Linked DNA regions of Homo sapiens: region 1 is linked to region 2. The links are contacts of gene promoters, found by promoter capture Hi-C in blood cells and fetal thymus (Javierre and others, 2016). All regions are on one chromosome and are shown on one strand. Each heading gives the region's core, a stretch centred on a gene start or on the middle of the fragment in contact. The rest is flanking DNA. Distances are from core to core; before and after follow the strand shown.

Region 1 (2,958 bases), core at 276-2,775, 260 kb after region 2:
AGGCATAGATTTATCAAAGTCTCATGTGCTGGGCTCTCTGAAGGGTGTAGTGATTGAGAACTCAGCCCCTTCCCAGAGGGAGCTCAGATTTTAGTAAGCAAAAAACTGTAATAAAAGATACAACTGTGACCAGGGCCTTGAGCAAGCAGGGCAGTGACTATTCTTAGGCTGACCTAATAGCCGTTCCCTATCTCCTTCTTATTTTCCTTGTCTACTCTAGGGGACTTAAATCCTCATTTCCTGCCCTCTGTTGCAACTAGTCAGTGATGATGTGGTTTGGGGTCATGAATTTTAAGTGGAAGTCTGCTAGTGGGTTCCAGGAAAACTTCTGTTCTCCGGATTAAAAAGGAGGAAGCAACTGGTCCTCCTACTTCTCCTTTATTCTTGCCTGGAAAGCAAATATGATGCCTGGATGTGTGGCAGCCATCTTGCAACCGTGAGGCTGAGAAACGGGTTCACCAATAACCAGTCACAAGAGAGGACCCCCAGTGCTTGGAGGACGGCAAAGACTATCACTATGCCAACCACCATGACTAGGATTCTGAACACTTCTGCCCATTGCATTGCGGGCTGTAGTTTTACCAATTGCCTGAGTCCCGTGAGATAGAACAGACTCACATGCAACAAGTTACAGGAAATGGATTTATTACTCAGCAATAGTCAGCAAGGGACAAAGAAGACTGGGAGCCACTGTGAGCCAGTCCCCTAAGGAGTGTGAATGTGTTCAAGAAAGCTGCCCAGGGTGGATGGAGTTTCCACTGCTTGTGCCCTACTTTCATGGCAGCTGAGGGCCCCTAAAAGATAGCTCATTTCCAGTTAAAAGCCTCAGGGGCTCCATGACTCACCGAGCAAAGCTCGGAAGGACATCCTACTTCCAGGGAAGAGAGGAACAAAGTGTGGGCTGTCCTGAACAGTTCCCTCTAACTCAAGATCTTACATTCCCCAGGAGAAACAGGAAAAGAGCCAAGCTCTTTCAGGCAGTCCTATCTCAGGATGTTGCATTCCAGCACATTCTAAAGTTATCCTGAGAACTACATGCAGAAAGGAAGGGGCTAGGAACTGGGTCTTCCAAGTCCATCTGGGGACTGTACCAGATAAAGGCCACTGTGGAGATGCTGTCCCTGATATTGTCAGGCCCCCAAAGCAAAGTTGGCAGCTGCCTTCCATGAGACGACCTCTTATGTGAGGAAAAGAAATCCCTATTTATCTAAGCTTCTGTAGTTTTGTGTGCCCTGAGGCTCAATGTAATCCTGATACAGACACGGAAAAGTACAGATTAAGTGTCAGGGGGCTGTCCAGGTGGGACAGGGGAGTTGGCACAGGAGAGGTAAGGAAAGACTTCATGGGGGAGGTCGTGGCATTTGAGTGGAGACTTAAAAGACTTCAGGGTTAAATATGTAGAGATGGGAGGAGAGTAAGCCATGGCGTGGGCAGAGGCTGATGTGGGAAGCAAGAACCGCTGGGGAAAAGAGGTGAGCAGGTTGCAGAAATGAAACCCAAGCCTGAGTGAACAACAAATACTCGTGTGATTGGGAAGCCCAAGGCTGGACTCACTTCAGACATGTTTGTATCCAAGAACATACATTTTATCGTTGGGAGTTTGTTGCCTTTTCAGCTCTTCTTTCTGCCTTTGTCCTTGAAGAGCTGCCTTTGAGCAGCAGATAGGATGACCAGTAGTCGTGTCAGACCCACATTCTTCCAGCTTAGGAACGTGTGTGGAACGAGAAGGTTGGACTTCTTTTTTGTTTGTTTTTAATGCATCAAACGCATTCACATTTATTTTCGTTTTTTAAAGCAAATAATAAAGACCCAGTTTACTGGCTTTACTTTTTTAAACCTAAGCTTAACATGACATACATAAACAATTGTCAAAACGAAGTCATCAGCATTCATGCACAATTGAAAAACATCCTTAATGTGTATTAAATCAGAAAGTATTACCATTAAAGCATGAATATCTTTCACTACTAAATACCGAATAAAATCGAAATGATTTCTGTAAGAGATTCATCCTGGCAATGTTAATGTCATAGCAGGCTGATACTACTTGACTCACATTTCAGACACAACGGAAAAGCAGGTCCATGCTGGTATCAGTGTATGATCTTGTCCTACCACTAAAGAGTCAAGGCTCACCTTGGAGTAAGTTTAATAAAAAAGCAAAGTGCAAACAGAGATTTACAACAATTTTAAAGACCAAAAAAAAATGGTCTCTGTTATGGTTTGGCTCTGTGTCCCCACCGAAATCTCATCTTTTAGCTCCCATAATTCCCACATGTTGTGGGAGGGACCTGCTGGGAGATGATTGAATCATGAGGGCAGGTCTTTCCTGTGCTGTTCTTGTGATAGTGAATGGAACTCATGAGATCTGATGGTTTTAAAAACAGGGGTCTCCCTGCACAAGCTCTCTCTCTCTTTGCCTACCTTCCATGTAAGATGTGACTTGCTCCTCCTTGACTTCCACCATGATTGTGAGGCTTCCTCAGCCACATGGAACTGTAAGTCCAATTAAACCTCTTTTTTTTCTTTCTTTTGTAAATTGCCCAGTCTCAGGTAAGTCTTTATCAGTAGCATGAAAACGGACTAATACAGTCTCAAATAAACTCAAAAGTCTATGACAAATAGGGGCTCTGATGAGCTGTTTTTAAATACTTTAGATTAGGTGCAACTATACTGAAAGGCAAGTTTGTTTGAAATCGTCAAAAAATTGTTCCTGTTAATCTTCAAATGGTGCTTGTTGTAGTTGAACATTTCTGTTAAATGTGTGCATTGAATTGCTTGTTATCCAAGCTCAGCTGCTGCCTGCCCCTCACCATGTATTGTTAAAGACTTTATTTAACTGGCCATCATTTAACTGGCTGTCATCTTCAACTTCTACTCTTTCTTGACAATTCTCTTTGTTGTGGTTTTTCTGCTGTTAACCATTTTAGTAGAAGTTGATATCAATTTGAAGTTGCC
Region 2 (2,700 bases), core at 47-2,546:
GGTAGGACCAGTGACTGGCTCCTAATCGAGCACTCTATTTTCAGGGTTTGCATTCCAAAAGGGTCAGGTCCAAGAGGGACCTGGAGTGCCAAGTGGAGGTGTAGAGGCACGGCCAGTACCCATGGAGAATGGTGGATGTCCTTAGGGGTTAGCAAGTGCCGTGTGCTAAGGAGGGGGCTTTGGAGGTTGGGCAGGCCCTCTGTGGGGCTCCATTTTTGTGGGGGTGGGGGCTGGAGCATTATAGGGGGTGGGAAGTGATTGGGGCTGTCACCCTAGCCTTCCTTATCTGACGCCCACCCATGCCTCCTCAGGTACCCCCTGCCCCCCACAGCTCCTCTCCTGTGCCTTGTTTCCCAGCCATGCGTTCTCCTCTATAAATACCCGCTCTGGTATTTGGGGTTGGCAGCTGTTGCTGCCAGGGAGATGGTTGGGTTGACATGCGGCTCCTGACAAAACACAAACCCCTGGTGTGTGTGGGCGTGGGTGGTGTGAGTAGGGGGATGAATCAGGGAGGGGGCGGGGGACCCAGGGGGCAGGAGCCACACAAAGTCTGTGCGGGGGTGGGAGCGCACATAGCAATTGGAAACTGAAAGCTTATCAGACCCTTTCTGGAAATCAGCCCACTGTTTATAAACTTGAGGCCCCACCCTCGACAGTACCGGGGAGGAAGAGGGCCTGCACTAGTCCAGAGGGAAACTGAGGCTCAGGGCTAGCTCGCCCATAGACATACATGGCAGGCAGGCTTTGGCCAGGATCCCTCCGCCTGCCAGGCGTCTCCCTGCCCTCCCTTCCTGCCTAGAGACCCCCACCCTCAAGCCTGGCTGGTCTTTGCCTGAGACCCAAACCTCTTCGACTTCAAGAGAATATTTAGGAACAAGGTGGTTTAGGGCCTTTCCTGGGAACAGGCCTTGACCCTTTAAGAAATGACCCAAAGTCTCTCCTTGACCAAAAAGGGGACCCTCAAACTAAAGGGAAGCCTCTCTTCTGCTGTCTCCCCTGACCCCACTCCCCCCCACCCCAGGACGAGGAGATAACCAGGGCTGAAAGAGGCCCGCCTGGGGGCTGCAGACATGCTTGCTGCCTGCCCTGGCGAAGGATTGGCAGGCTTGCCCGTCACAGGACCCCCGCTGGCTGACTCAGGGGCGCAGGCCTCTTGCGGGGGAGCTGGCCTCCCCGCCCCCACGGCCACGGGCCGCCCTTTCCTGGCAGGACAGCGGGATCTTGCAGCTGTCAGGGGAGGGGAGGCGGGGGCTGATGTCAGGAGGGATACAAATAGTGCCGACGGCTGGGGGCCCTGTCTCCCCTCGCCGCATCCACTCTCCGGCCGGCCGCCTGCCCGCCGCCTCCTCCGTGCGCCCGCCAGCCTCGCCCGCGCCGTCACCATGAGCCAGGCCTACTCGTCCAGCCAGCGCGTGTCCTCCTACCGCCGCACCTTCGGCGGGGCCCCGGGCTTCCCACTCGGCTCCCCGCTGAGTTCGCCCGTGTTCCCGCGGGCGGGTTTCGGCTCTAAGGGCTCCTCCAGCTCGGTGACGTCCCGCGTGTACCAGGTGTCGCGCACGTCGGGCGGGGCCGGGGGCCTGGGGTCGCTGCGGGCCAGCCGGCTGGGGACCACCCGCACGCCCTCCTCCTACGGCGCAGGCGAGCTGCTGGACTTCTCACTGGCCGACGCGGTGAACCAGGAGTTTCTGACCACGCGCACCAACGAGAAGGTGGAGCTGCAGGAGCTCAATGACCGCTTCGCCAACTACATCGAGAAGGTGCGCTTCCTGGAGCAGCAGAACGCGGCGCTCGCCGCCGAAGTGAACCGGCTCAAGGGCCGCGAGCCGACGCGAGTGGCCGAGCTCTACGAGGAGGAGCTGCGGGAGCTGCGGCGCCAGGTGGAGGTGCTCACTAACCAGCGCGCGCGCGTCGACGTCGAGCGCGACAACCTGCTCGACGACCTGCAGCGGCTCAAGGCCAAGTGAGGGCCCGGCACCCCAGACTCCTCTTTCTGCGGGCAGGGCACAGGAGGCTAGGCCTGGGGTCTGGGGTCCCGCTGTCAGCACCTGCCTTCTCCCGGGGCCCGGGACCCTCTCCTGCCCCATGTGGAGAAAGGGTCCTCCACCTGTGTGTTTCAAGGGGCCGTGACCTCCAGGTCTCTCCCCCTGCGATCCCATCTTGCACAGGAGTTTTCTTGGGGACATAGATCAGGGGGTGGATATGGGAGAATTTAGGGGACCCGGTGCCCTGTGGACAGCCCCGTTAAAAAGCATTTTAAGATGCTGGGGCGATATTTATGGGGTCAGGTAGTTGATGGGCAGAGGAAGGGCTGCAGGAGGCCCAGAGGGCAGTGTAGCCAGAGGGAGAAGGGAGGCTGATAGGAGACAGGGAAAGCAGGGCAAGGGCCCAGAGTCCAAGCAACAGCTCTCAGCTCAGCTGTGATGAGGCCCTGGGGGAGGTGGGGGGAGGGGGGAGCTTGGCCCTGGGGCCTTGCCGAGACTGTGTCTTTTTACAAGGTGAATGGACAGGCTGGAGAAAAAGGGAGTAGGTGGGGGTCACAGCTCTCAGAGAGCTTGGGAGGACCTGACTGTAGACTTCACCAGGCTCCAAGAACGAAAAGGGCAGCAAGTGTAGCATATTTGTTGGTCCCACTTCTGACAGGCCAAGTGAGCACAGTCACCCTCCTGCCACCAAAGTCATAAATATTAATTGAGCAGCTAT

What was found. The method cuts DNA at HindIII sites, captures the fragments that hold promoters and counts their contacts. A CHiCAGO score of 5 or more calls a contact.
Region 1: a contact is called between a fragment that was not itself captured here and the fragment with the promoter of DES in region 2, in 3 of 17 cell types (M2 macrophages, M0 macrophages and erythroblasts). The highest score is 6.6, in M2 macrophages.

The regions. Positions count from the first base shown.
Region 1 is chr2:219,681,256-219,684,213 of GRCh38, forward strand. It overlaps the pseudogene DNAJB6P3. Among named protein-coding and RNA genes, the nearest start is that of LINC02832, 47 kb to the right of the region's middle. RefSeq lists an enhancer at 2,756-2,958. The HindIII fragment of the contact is 630 bases long and covers 1,211-1,840 here.
Region 2 is chr2:219,417,081-219,419,780 of GRCh38, forward strand. DES (desmin) reads left to right here and starts at 1,297. Exons shown (of 9, transcript NM_001927.4): 1 at 1,297-1,960. The coding sequence starts at 1,383. RefSeq lists cis regulatory regions at 316-1,372, 389-395, enhancers at 316-591, 316-434, 435-591, a silencer at 592-1,067 and a promoter at 1,068-1,372. The HindIII fragment of the contact is 3,605 bases long and covers 592-2,700 here.